2 separate regions of the Homo sapiens genome follow, and region 2 is linked to region 1. The links are contacts of gene promoters, found by promoter capture Hi-C in blood cells and fetal thymus (Javierre and others, 2016). All regions are on one chromosome and are shown on one strand. Each heading gives the region's core, a stretch centred on a gene start or on the middle of the fragment in contact. The rest is flanking DNA. Distances are from core to core; before and after follow the strand shown. Region 1 holds the start of CYP3A43 (cytochrome P450 family 3 subfamily A member 43). Region 2 holds the start of OR2AE1 (olfactory receptor family 2 subfamily AE member 1).

Region 1 (7,173 bases), core at 651-3,150:
ATGAGAGACCCACCCAGTTTTCAATCATCATGAAGGAGCCAGGGGCTCAATGGCCCCTGCTGGTACCAAGTTGCCAGGTCCCTGCAATGTTCCAGACAAAGACAGTGATGGTAAAAAGGGAAAAGTGGAGGTAGAATGCAAGTGCAGCAGCAGGAAGATATGGGACTCTCCATTTTAGGGTCTTCAAGTTTTTCAGATTTTCTGAGACATGGGTTAACTCTTCAGGTTAGTCTCCTAGTAAAACACAGCCAAAGTCCCAATTGTGTTTGAAACTTTCAAAAATGCAGATTGAAAGAAAGCCTCTTACTGTCTTTGAGAAGTCCAGACTCCTCTTATCCTCATTGCATGCTTCGGAGTTCAATTTAGGTGTATCTCTCACATCCATTTCTGTCGAGCCTTTACCTTTAAATTTTAAACTTGAAAAACTGCCAGAGTACCTGATAGTGATTGATCAGAGACAGAGCCACCGAATTACCCGATGGCAGGCCTTAGAGACCATGGCCTTAGGACCTAGGTTATGCATAGCCCTCACCTTAGGAAGGGGTCCCTTCAAGGGCAAATAAAATGCGATAGTCCTTGCAACACTGAAGCATGGAGTATCCTGTGAGGCATGAACTTGCTTGATGCAGCATGAATGCACCCCAAGAAACATGGGCATGCCCCTCCAAGTGCAAGCATACCCCACAAGTGGGTAGCCATAGAGCCAGAAGGGCAGGTTCCCTGAAAAAAATAAAGACCTCAAGACCTCATCCTAAATGTGAGATCTTGGATGTAAGAGGATTTACTGATTTTTCCACAAAACAGCCAGGCCAGGAAGATAACTGAGCTTAGAGGACTCTTGCTGGTGCCAATGCATTGATTAGTCCAGATGACAAGGGAGAGGATCTTGAGAGCCAATTTTGATCCCTTCCTCATCACCAGGAAATATGAGTAAAGATTGTGGGATCTGTGGAGGACAGAGGGAGAGCTTCATTTTCTATAAAACACAGTCTGCAGATTGAGGAGATGCAGCCTCGGAGGTGGAGAGCTATAAAGTCAAAAACCACAGAGCAGGATAGAGGAGTCAGAGGAGTGAAGAAAAGAGTCTTGATTAGACAGCCTTTAAGCCCCAAGTCACATGTCTCTTAATTGGCTGTTCCTAGGTGGTCAGTTAGTTCTTACCACATGATCTGTTGGTGAGCAGTTGGAAAATTCCCAGGTACAGATTTTTTCAGAAAATGTTATTTGACTTGGCTACAGAAAAATAGGTTTTGCAACACTTACTAAGAACACAGAGAACATGACCATCACCTAAACCTGCCATGGCCTCTTGGGTTTGTTTTTGCTTTTGAGGCACAGGGAGTCCTTCTTGTCTGTTTACCTGGAGGCATGATTTGGCAACCTAGATAACAAACAGAGATAGGCTTTCTAAAAAGAATTATTTTTATTTGGGAATAAAGCATTGCAATGGGAATATGCGTGCCAAGGTAAACTATGTGCTTATTCAGGTAGGTAAAGTAAGACAAAGTTTAAAAAAATAATGAGAAGGATTACATATTTGTTTTGGAATGATTATCCTTGGCTATAAAGATCAATAACAAGACTGACATCAGTTTGAGGTTGGACAGGCAGTTGCTGGGCAGATGTTCTTGCAGAAGTATTTTTCTTTAGGTTCCTGAGAATCTATAACCTTTGGGCTTACCAATAGCAGTGACTGATTTGTTTACTGATTGTTCACAGAATAGGAAATCAAAGGAGGCCAAAATAAGGACAGCCATAATTATTTGCCAATTGTCAATTTGAAAAGGGTACCCAAATCCCTCCATATGAGGAGTAGCATAAGTGGCTTTTCTACTGGCTGCCGCTGTAGACCCACCTCCTTCTCCAGCACATAAATATCGCTGTTAACATTAACTAAATCACCTCTGGGCAGAGAAACAAAGCTCTATATGCACAGCCCAGCAAAGAGCAGCACACAGCTGAAAGAAAAACTCAGAAGACAGAGCTGAAAAAGAAAACTGGTGATGGATCTCATTCCAAACTTTGCCATGGAAACATGGGTTCTTGTGGCTACCAGCCTGGTACTCCTCTATATGTGAGTAACTATGCAGGCATGTTTGCTCTTAACTCTAAGACCTGAAGTGCTAATTGGGCCCATCTTTTTCTTATTTGTTTTGAAGATAAAAGAGATAACGGAGGGGAAGTTACCTAAGTGCCAAATACTGTGAACACATAAAATATTATTAATATGTTAGGACTCCTAATACAACATTTGAAAATGTAAAATTTAGTCTGGGTGCGGTGGCTCACACCTGTAATCTCAGCACTTGGGAGGTGGAGGCAGGCCAATCACAAGGTCAGGAGTTCAAGACCAGCCAGACCAACATGGTGAAACCCCTTCTCTACTAAAAATACAAAAATTAGTCAGGCATGGTGGCACACACCTGTAATCCCAGCTACTTGGGAGGCTGAGGCAGGAGAATCGCTTGAACCCAGGAGGCAGAGGTTTCAGTGAGCGGAGATTGCACCACTGCATTCCAGCCTGGGTGACAGAGCAAGACTCCGTCTCAAAAAAAAAAATAAAACTTTGTCATACTGAGTAGTTTGAACTAAAGAAGACTGAAAGACTTCACAAATGTCTTCAGAATCTCTGACCCTCTTCTGTCTACCCATCCCCCATTCTTTCCCTCCTGAAGTGCAGGGTTGCTCTGAAGTTCTCTTATCTGACTAAGGGAAGATCTTCCAAAAAGAATGCAATTGTCTTGAGCCTCTCCAAATAATCTCATCAATCAGAAAACTAATTCACAGGAAAAGAGAAAAAGTTTGATAATACTTATTCTTTGGAGCACTGCTACCTGAGAGACTTTATCTCCACAATAAAATAACCTTTGTTCATCATGTGTTTTCTCCCTTCACCTTCCCATAACTTGTGTCAGAAACTCCCTATCAGAAGCCACTCCCTACTTTTTAGCTTACAATGCTATTTAAGCTTTACTCATTCAGTCCTTATTTTAGTCTCATATATTGTGGGCCTCCAGCACATATGCATGTAAAATTTTGTATGGATTTTCACTGTAACCACCCAAGAGATTCACCTTGCCCCCTGCCTCAACAGAGCCCATTCATCAAGACAGGGGAATTGTAATAGAGAATGAGTTAATACATGCTGCCAACAAAAAGAGCCAAACTCTGTACAATACTTGAAGAGATTTATTCTGGGCCAAATATGAGTGACCATGGCCCATGACACAGCCTTCAGGAGGTCTTAAGAACATGTACCCAAGGTGGTCAGGGTGCAGCTTGGTTTTATTCTTTTAGGGAGGCATGAGATATCAAATACATTTAAGAAATACATTGGTTTGGTCCACAAAGGCAGGAAATGTGATTTTTGCAGAATTCTTTGTGATAGAGCAGACTCCAGAGAAATTGCAACAACTTAAAGTCTTTCAGATCTGGCCCTAAGGAGCTATAGGAGAGAAAAAAAATCTGTCAGATCACCATTGCCTACCTCTACTCCAACTGGAGCTGTTTCAAAACCAACATGTAGAAATCTTTTTGTCTGGCTGCCCTGTGAACTCAGAAACTAGTCTGCTAAATGATTAACTTTTGGTCTCCTTTTGCTTTGGTAGAATGACCTCTTATTAAGTACCTGTTTAACTGCACCATATACAGACCTATCTTTCATGACAGCAGACCTGCAACATCACCTCCTGAAATGAGGCACAGCTGTTTAACTGGATTGACATTGCTAGGAATGTGAGACTGGTTTATACTGGTTTAATGTGATTCCTTGCGACTCAGCTACCAATTCAATTGTCCTCTCCACAAGCATCAACTCAGCTTTAGTATGTACATTTTCTAGGGAAGTTTATGACAGGGGAAAGTTGGGGCTCCAAAAATGAAACCCCAAAATATGGCACTTAAGCATGTTGAGGACTTTGAACCAAAGGAAATTGAAAGGTCTCAGAAAGTCTTCAGAACCAAGCTAACTCTTATGTTCTCCTGTCTCCCAACCCTGCTATTTCTCCCAAAATATAGGAAGGGGCTTTCTCTGAAGTTCTCATACCTAAAGGAAGATCCTCCTAAAAAAAAGCAATGGTCTTGAGCCCCCTCCCTATAATCTCATGAAAAAGAATCTTAGCAGGGCCAGGCATGGTGGCTCATACCTGTAATTCCAGCACTTTGGAAAGCCGAGGTGGGTGGATCACGTGAGGTCAGAAGTTCAAGACCAGCCTGGTCAACATGATGAAACCCTGTCTCTACTAAATATACAAAAATTAGCTGGGTGTGGTGGCAGGTGCCTGCAATCCCAGCTACTCGGGAGGCTGAGGCAGGAGAATCGCCTGAACCCTGGAGGCAGAGGTTGCAGTGAGCCAAGATTGCGCCATTGCACTCTAGCCTGAACAACAAGAGCAAAACTTAGTCTAAAAGAAAAAAAAAAGAAAAAAATAATATTAGCTCACAGAAAGGGAGACTAAGGTTGATAATACTTGTTCTTTGGAGCACTGATGCCTGACAGACATTATAATAAGATGACTTTTGTTTATCATGCTTTTTCTTCCCTCACTCTCTCATGTCTTGTGTCACCCACTCCCCATCAGAAGATACTACATTTTTATAGCTCAGAATGCTATTTAAGCTTCAATCATCAGGCCATTCTTTGAGTATCATATCTTTCAAGGCTCCCATGCATATTCATGAGATAAATTTATAAGGATTATCTCCTATTAATTGATCTACTGTTAGTTCATTTCTCAGACTCAAATATCAAACCTCCATAGAGGAATGTTCTCTTGACCCTACAGATGTTACACAGATCCGTTGAAGAAGTAAATAAACATTATCCACCTCCTCTTCATTCAACTTCCAATTTCTGTTACTAAGAGTGTTTACTGACATCATTCAATCCTGGGGATGCTTTCTGATTGACTATGAGTTTTGATCTACCTAGACTAACAACCAGAATTTAGCATGGGCAGATAATGGATTATAAACAACTGGAAACCCAAGAGGTTATTTTCGATGTGTGAGTAGGAAAAGATCCCCAAAGAGGGAACCAAGCTAACAGCTGGGCCTGGCCAGGGTGCCACTGTGGGGTCCTTCAAACACATTCTCTTCATGCAATTTTTCAGCTTTATCACATTTTATAAGATTTATTTATTTGTACTGAATATTTAGGATCTAAGAAAAGCTAACCTATAAAGAAGAGAAATCAAGTTTCTAATTCAACTGTCTGGAATATTTTATGGTTACTTATGCTATGTAGCACAGTGAAACTTTTCTATCAACAGAAATGTTCCTGAATTTTGGAAGACCTCTCTTTCAGCTGAAAGCACATAAGGGGCATTTAAAACTATTTATGCATACCATAATTTTCAGCCACACTTTCCTAACTTACCCTTATAGGGCCTACTTTGTGGCACCAGCAGTTGCATGGTTACATCGGCGGGATGCAGCCTCTCTTTTTCCTCCAGTCTTCCATCCCTCAGTAACACCAGAGTGGGAAGTTCTGCAAGGATCCAGAACCTGCAATTGATGGAGTTCACACATAACCCATCAAAGATGAGTTGCAGGCAGGCCTGCCATAAGGAGCACCAGACTTAATGGGTTTTCCTGCAGGATAGTTGATGTACAGAAGCAGTAAACTGACTCTGTGTGACTGATCATTTTGAGAAAAAAAAAAAGTGAGCATGACTGGCATTGTGCTTATCAAGTAAGGATCACCAGTTGGAGGGCCAGATTGCACAAGAGGAGGAATGGCCTTGAAATTTATTCTTTAGTCATTGGTTCCTCTGCATAGTGCCATTCAGAGAACATATAGGTCAATCACATTTACTGTAGTTTATATCAATCAAATCATCTGACCACAGAGATTTGGGTGTAGCTGGAAGGTGCTCACATTTCTATGAAGCCAGTGGAAGCCTTGAATATGGTTGTCATTCCATAGAAATAAGAACACTATGATTCTTCCAGAGCTCCTCTGTGCAGGAATGTTTAAGGATGGCCAGATCCTAAAACAAGGTCAGTGTTTAGAGGGAAGGAAAAGCATAAACACCTCTGAGAAAACAGGAAAGAAGGTGTCAGCAAAGGGCCTCAGTAACCCTCTGTAATTCAATGGATGTAGTGATACACAAACTCATTATTAGTTCAAAAGATAAAAAAAAAAAACCTCACCTAGTGATATGGTTTGGCTCTGTGTCCCCAGCCAAATCTCATCTTGAATTGTTATCCCTATGTGTCAAGGAAGGGACCTGGTGGGAGGAATTGGATCATAGGGGTGTTTTCACCCATGCTGTTCTCATGATAGTGAATGAATTCTCACAAGATCTGATGGTTTTAAAAGTGTGGCACCTCGACCAAACACCGCATGTTCTCACTCATAGGTGGGAATTGAACAATGAGAACACATGGACACAGGAAGGGGAACATCACACACCGGGGACTGTTGTGGGGTGGGGGGAGGGGGGAGGGATAGCATTAGGAGATATACCTAATGCTAAATGATGAGTTAATGGGTGCAGCACACCAACATGGCACATATATACATATGTAACAAACCTGCACGTTGTGCACATGTACCCTAAAACTTAAAGTATAATAATAATAGAAAAAAAAACAAAACAACAAAACAAGAAAAAAAAAGTGTGACACCTCTTCTCTCTCTCTCTGTCTTTCTCTCTCTCCTGCCTCCATGTAATACATGCTTTGCTTCCCCTTCACCTTCCACCATGATTTTAAGTTTCCTGAGGCCTCCCCAGCCATGGAGAACTGTGAGTCAATTAAGCCTCTTTTCTTTATAAATTACCCAGTCTCAGGTAGTTCTTTATAGCAGTGTGAAAATGGACTAATACACCTAGAAAGAGAATTTCCAAATCAGGAAAGAATCAATTAACTAAATAGACATACGTGAATGAAATGCCCTGGAAGAATTCCAGTCTGAACCTCTTAAGGGCACTCAAATTTGGGAACATTTATTAAGCATTCACTCTAGCACTGGGATCATGCAGACTTCAGCTGCTTTTAGTTAATCATTGTGACTTTTTGGGGTCTCACAGAGGAGGCAGCAAAAAAGATGAGGATTGAAATGTAGTGGGATTTTAAGGAATCAGAGAGACTGATGGGGTTCAGGAGGATATTTATTAATTATTTAGGTGCACCAGCCCAGTCGGATTAACATCCAGAGGACTGAGCTCT
Region 2 (7,143 bases), core at 3,615-6,114, 49 kb after region 1:
AGATGCTCCTGATCATACTCTAGTACGGAGATGTGTTCTTGAGAAACCTGAGACAGAAAGTAGAGAAGGGCAAGCCCCTCACTTTGAGAGTAAGTAGGAGCACAGCCATGGAGTTCTGAGCTGTAATGAGCCCCTCCAGCTGCCTGCCATGGAGCTGATATCCCCACTCTTGGGTTAGTCCAGTGACCAGACAAAAGCAGGGCTGTAGCGTTGTGACTACAATGGGCCACCCAAGAGGGGACGGCTCCCATGAGAAGACAGGGAAGCAGTGTGGCATCGGGAGTCAGGGGGATTATTTTCTCCTCTGTTCACAGAAGCCTAAATTTATTCATCTGCTAAATTGTCACCATGGATATTCTGGAAGAAAAATACATTTTCTAGATGTAGTACCTACATCAACAGCATCAGCACTACTTGGGATTTATTAAAAATGTAAATTCAGAGTTTTTGAATCAGAAACTCTGAATCAGAAACCCTGGAACTAGGGCCCAGCCAACTGCTTTAACATGACCTTCAGATGATTCTAATGTGTACTCATGTTTGAGAATCGCTGCTGTAGAAGAGCATGAGAACAAGGAAGTAACATGAAAGAATTTAAATGCAAAGGAAATGGAAAATGAAGACTCAATGAAGTAGGAGTTAAAGTGAGTGTAGCGTTCAGTGAAGAAAGTGTTTCAAAAAAGGAAGGCATAATCAACTTTGTCAAAGGCTGTTGGGTACATTGAAAATTGGTCATTGATCGCTTCTTGGCCTTTTGGCTAAGAGCAAGTGAAAATTGGCCATTAAATGTGGCCACAAGGAGGCCATTTGTGACAATCATACTAATGGTTTCCATAGATTGATGATGACAAAAGCCAACTGAAGTGAGCTCAGGAGAAAATGGAAGCAGAAAAAGTGGAAATAACAAGTAAAGAAAACTGTTTCGGCCGGGCACGGAGGCTCACGCCTGTAATCCCAGCACTTTGGGAGGCCGAGGCGGGCGGATCACGAGGTCAGGAGATCGAGACCATCCTGGCTAACATGGTGAAACCCTGTCTGTACTAAAAATACAAAAAATTAGCCAGGCATGGTGGCGGGTGCCTGTAGTCCCAGCTAATCGGGAGGCTGAGGCAGGAGAATAGCATGAACCCAGGAGGCGTAGCTTGCAGTGAGTGGAGATCGCATCACTGCACTCCAGCCTGGGCAACAGAGCAAGACTCCATCTCAAAAAAAAAAAAGAAAACTGTTTCAAGGAATTCTTCTGTAAGACTGTTTAGACCATGGGTGGACGTCCAATCTTTTGGCTTCCCCAGGCCGCACTGGAAGAAGAATTGTCTTGGGCCACACATAAAATACACTAAAACTAATGACAGCTGATGAGCTAAAAAATAAATAAATAAAAGTTAAAATCTCATAATTTTTTTTATACTTTAAGTTCTAGGGTACATGTGCACAACGTGCAGGTTTGTTACATATGTATACATGTGCCATGTTGGTGTGCTGCACCCATTAACTCGTCATTTACATTAGGTATATCTCCTAAAGCTATTCCTCCCCTCTCCCCCCACCCCACAACAGGCCCTGGTGTGTGATGTTCCCCTTCCTGTGTCCAGGTGTTCTCACTGTTCAATTCCCACCTATGAGTGAGAACATGCGGTGTTTGGTTTTCTGTCCTTACAATAGTTTGCTGAGAATGATGGTTTCCAGCTTCATCCAAGTCCCTACAAAGGACATGAACTCATCATTTTTTATGGCTGCATTGTATTCTGTGTATATGGGCCACATTTTCTTAATCCAGTCTATCATTGTTGGACATTTGGGTTGGTTCCAAGTCTTTGCTATTGTGAATAGTGCTGCAATAAACATACGTGTGCACGTGTCTTTACAGCAGCATGATTTATAATCCTTTGGGTATATACCCAGTAATGGGATGGCTGGGTCAAATGGTATTTCTAGTTCTAGATCCCTGAGGAATCGCCACACTGACTTCCACAATGGTTGAACTAGTTTACAGTCCCACCAACAGCATAAAAGTATTCCTATTTCTCCACATCCTCTCCAGCACCTGTGGTTTCCTGACTTTTTAATGATCGCCATTCTAACTGGTGTGAGATGGTATCTCAATGTGGTTTTGATTTGCATTTCTCTGATGGCCAGTGATGATGAAAATGTTTTAAGAAAGTTTATGAATTTGTGTTGGGCCACATTCAAAGCCTTCCCAGGCCACATATGGTCTGCAGTACATGGGTTGAATGAGCTTGGTTTAGACTTTCCGGGATTGAGGAGAAGTTTCTTTTTAAGATGACAATCATAAAGGTATGTCTGTAGGCTGAGGTACTGATCAAGTAGACTGGGAAAATTTATAACGCAGAAGAGAGAAGAATAATTTCAAGAGCAAGATTATAAGAGATCCTTGCAGATCAGATGGTTATGATGACCTGTGTTAGTCCTCCCCCATATTGCTAAACCCAAATAATCTTGTCTCCATTGGATGAATTCTACTACTGGCCTCTTCTTGGACTTATTCTGTGGACAATTTGGCAGTAAATGGATATGTGAGTAATAGTCTCCAAATCTGGTTCTTTAGTGCTCCCACTGATTCTGACATCTTCCCATCATGCCTTCAATAAGGCTTTTTTCTGCTTGTTTCATTCAGAGTCCATTTCTGTTGCTTGGAACCAATACCCATAACTAACACAAAATCTCAGGTCACCCTATTTTTTTTTTCATTAAACACATAAGATTACTGAGGCCTTGAGAGGTTAAGTAACTTACCACTGTTATCAAGTGGCAGACTCTCCTCCAGATCATTCTGATTCCAAATCACAAGGCTAGGAACCCTCAAAGAACAGAAAGGTATTTTCAGCCTGTGAAATAATAAAAGTTAATATGCCTACCTGCTATGGCAAGTCCAACGTAGACCAAGGAAAAGCACAAGCAGATGTGTAAAAAATCTTAAGTTTCACAATGCAATTCCAAACATCTAGTCTACCACCTGGATCATACTAGGCACTCAACAAAGATTTGTTAAACACAACATGGATTACAAGAATTATGTTATATATTATTATGTATGTATACAAAATGTATTATTCTTTCCCTTATGAATTCTTACACACTGTGATTCATGGAACACTAAGGGTCTAAGAATATAACTTTTAGGGCCAGGTGCAGTAGCTCACGTCTGTAATCTCAGAACTTTGGGAGGCCAAGGTGGGCAGATCACCTGAGGTCAGGGGTTGAAGACCAGCCTGACCAACATGGTGAAACCCCGTCTCTACTAAAAATACAAAAATTAGCCAGGCATGGTGGCACGCGCCTGTAATCCCAGCTACTCTGTAATACTCAGCTACTCCTGGCTGAGGCAGGAGAATCACTTGAACCTGGGAGGCGGAGGTTGCAGTGAGCCAAGATCGTGCCACTGCACTCCAGCCTAGGTGACAGAGAGAGACTCCGTCACAAAAAAAAAAAAGAATACAACTTTTATATCATGCATCCTCCCTTTCAAACAGCCATCATTCACCATTTACTTCCCATGCTTCCAAAAGTAAGCAACACACTCCAATTTTAAACTCCATAAATACTCTCTGGTGGCATGTTTTATATATTTTTGTTAATAAAAATAATAATAGATAAGGGCCCTTATATCTTTATCTTGCCTTCTTTTTTTCAGGGTGTCAGTGACCTTTATATGTCTTCTTTCAAAGGGACTTTTTAAAAAGTTTTCCCTAATTCTCTAAAGATCTACTCAAATGTTCTCCACAGTGCTTGGATACCTGACACCAAGCTGGAATACTGGAATTGTGTGTTAAATGTGTTTTTCTTCCAGTAGTAAAACAGCATAAGGAAGCTATCTCCCTGAAAAACTTTAGAGGTTTATATGAATTAATTTAAGGAGCTTATCCTATTCCACTCTACACTCGGGGCAACCACAATTGCAGTCGTTGAATGCACTGGGTGATAACATCTCTCCTCAGCACTCTTCTCAGAGCCTTAGCTACATCTTTATTCCGGAGAGTATAAATCAGAGAATTCAATGTGGGCGTAATGATGCTGTAGAACACAGAACCAACTTTGTTCTGCAATAGAGTGCACTGGGACCTGGGTCTCATGTAGGAGAAGATGCAGGCACCAAACCAAAGAGAAACCACCGTGAGGTGGGAGCCACAAGTGGCAAAGGCATTTCTCTTGCTCCCAGATGAGCGCATCTGAATGACACTTTGAAGGATGAAGACATAGGATGTAGAAATCAGGAAGATGGGGAGGAGGAGGAGAATGCTGCTGATGTACACTGTGGTCTCATACACAGTGATGTCGCCACATACCAACTTCACAACAGCTGGGAACTCACAGTAGAAGTGGTAGACTTTCCGAGGCCCACAGAAAGGGAAGTGCATCAAGATCGCCATGTGAATTAGGGAGTTCACGGATGCCCCCAACCATGACATGACAGCCATCATCAGTCCCACCTTCTTGTTCATGAGCACAGCATAGCGCAGTGGATGACAGATGGCAACATAGCGGTCATAGGACATGACAGCTAAGAGAAAACATTCAGCACCACCTAGACACAAATAGAGGAAGTGCTGGGTTGCACAGCCCACAAAGGAGATAGATTTCTTGCCAGATAGGTAGTTGGTAGCCATCTTCAGGATGATTGTGGAGACATGCATCAGATCCATGAGGGAGAGCTGGCTGAGCAGGAAATACATTGGTGTATGAAGCTGGGGATCAATGCAGATGAGGAGAATGGTGAGGGTGTTGCCACTCACCGCAATAAGGAAGACCACCATGGTCAAGGAGAAAAGGAAAAGGTGGGTAAGGGAGTCATCGAAGAGCCCCTCAAGGATGAAGTCTGCCAGAGAGGTCTGATTCTTCTGCCACATTGTCCCCTTTCTCAATCCCTGAGGAAACAGAGAGTGGAGATAAAGAGTGTGACTGGAAATACTGGGGTCCAGTATACCCAAGGAAAAGCACCTTTTGATAGAGGACAGAACCTGTGAAAAAAATTTCCGTTTCTAATTATTCAACCTCTCTAATTATTCAAATAACCTTTTTTTAAAAGAGAGCTTAGAAATCTGCCTTCACAAACATAATCACTCTGAAATTTCAGAATATCTGGACTCTATTATCAAACTTCAAGTCTCTTCTCGTTAAGAAAGATATATATGTGTGTGTGTGTGTGTGTGTATGTATATGTATGTGTGTATATATTTATTCCCCATTTACTTCCTAGGCTTCCAAAACACACATATGTATACACACACACACACACACACACATTTGTCTTTCTTAATGAGAAGAGACTTGAAGTTTGATACTTAATGGAGTCTAGATATTCTGAGATTTCAGAGTGATCATGTTTGTGAAGGCAGATTTTTAAGCTCTCTCTCTCTATACAGACACACACAGAGAGACAGTTTGGAGAAAAGCTTGGGGGCGTTGCTTATTTTATCAGTGAGGATTTTACTAGAAAAGCTATAACACTAAGAGATTTCTCTTATACAATTGTGGAAGCTGGTTAGGCAATCTATGCGTGGCTGTTACCTTTGTGTCTGATGCTGGAACTTTAATTCCAGAGGGCAAGTAGTCAGGAAAAAAAAAATGGATATAAAGAGTGGCAGATCAAAGTCATGCTGGAACCCACAAGCATGAGCTGCAATCCCACAAAGGCAGACTGAAACCCATGTCAGTTCTTGTTGTCTCTGAAATTGGCGGTGTGGATATCCTGCAGAAGCTGGGGCGCCTCTTTTTTTTTTTTTTTTTTTTTTTGAGTTGGAGTCTTGCTCTGTCGCCCAGGCTGGAATGCTGTGGCCCGATCTCGTCTCACTGCAAGCTCCGCCTCCCGGGTTCATGCCATTCTCTTGCCTCAGCCTCCGTAGTAGCTGGGACTACAGGCGCCTGCCACCACACCCGGCTAATTTTTTGTATTTTTAGTAGAGACGGGGATTTCACCGTGTTCGACAGGATGGTCTCCATCTCCTGACCTCGTGATCCCCCCGCCTCGGCCTCCCAAAGTGCTGGGATTACAGGCGTGAACCACCGCACCCGGCCGCTGGGGCGCTTCTTAATGGCCAGATTAAAAATGCACACACCTGGCCGGGCGCGGCGGCTCACGCCTGTAATCCCAGCACTTTGGGAGGCCGAGGCAGGTGGATCACGAGGTCAGGAGATGGAGACCATCCTGGCTAACACGGTGAAACCCCGTCTCTACTAAAAATACAAAAAATTTGCCGGGCGTGGTGGCGGGCGCCTGTAGTCCCAGCTACTCGGGAGGCTGAGGCAAGAGAATGGTGTGAACCCAGGAAGCGGAGCTTGCAGTGAGTGGAGATCGCATCACTGCACTCCAGCCTGGGCAACAGAGCGAGACTCCGTCTTAAAAAAAAAAATAAAAAAAAAAAAATAAAAAAAAAAAAGAATGCACACACCTGACCCAGAAGTCAGAAAAACTAAAGGAGAATCCAAGGGAAGGCCTTTTGAAGACCATCTGGTTGGCAACACGTTTTGGTGCTGGGGCAGTGTCCTCTAGGATGTGAAATATACTCTAAATCTGCATCCAATTTATGCTGCTCTTCCTCCCATAGCAAGATTCATGGAACCAGAAATCACCAGGTAGAAGAGAGAATGAGTCCTCTCACTATAGCCCCCATAACTGTGACCCACCAGCACAATTTTAGTTTTCTATCCCTTCACTTTTAGCTTTTGCTGTTTTAGAGGTCTTAGTTCCAAAGGGAGAAATTCTTCTACCAGGTGTCACAACAATAATCCCATTTTCTGATAGTTAAGACTGCCACCATGCCACTTGGGGCTCCTCATAGAACTGAATCAATAGGCAAATAAGGTTACTCTATTGGCTAGTAAGACTGATTCTGACTAGCAATGGGAAATTCAGTCACTACTATACAGTGAGGATATGGAGAATTATGTCTGCAGTCAGATTTTCTAGGGTGTACTCTCATGTCTCATGATGTAAGCCAATAGAAAACTACAACCCAATTCAGACAAGACTGCTAGTGGCCCAGATGCTTCAGGAATAAAGGTTTGGGTTACCCCACCAGGCAAAGAGTCATGAATAACTGTAGACAAAGAGAATTGGAATGGGTAGTGAAAGCAAGTCGTTATAAATACCAGCCAAAAACCATGTGAGCAGCTACAGAAACAAAA

Evidence for each region. Contacts are between HindIII fragments. The CHiCAGO score rates a contact against its expected background, and 5 or more counts as called.
Region 2: the fragment with the promoter of OR2AE1 here is called in contact with the fragment with the promoter of CYP3A43 in region 1 in 6 of 17 cell types (neutrophils, M1 macrophages, total B cells and 3 more); the score reaches 7.1 in neutrophils.

What each region holds. Positions count from the first base shown.
Region 1 is chr7:99,826,113-99,833,285 of GRCh38, forward strand. It overlaps CYP3A43 (cytochrome P450 family 3 subfamily A member 43), which reads left to right and starts at 1,901. Exons shown (of 13, transcript NM_057095.3): 1 at 1,901-2,074. The coding sequence starts at 2,004. The HindIII fragment of the contact is 4,482 bases long and covers 1-2,966 here.
Region 2 is chr7:99,872,169-99,879,311 of GRCh38, forward strand. It overlaps OR2AE1 (olfactory receptor family 2 subfamily AE member 1), which reads right to left and starts at 4,865. Exons shown (of 1, transcript NM_001005276.1): 1 at 3,894-4,865. The coding sequence starts at 4,865. The coding sequence ends at 3,894. It also overlaps the pseudogene CYP3A52P. The HindIII fragment of the contact is 12,247 bases long and covers 1-5,409 here.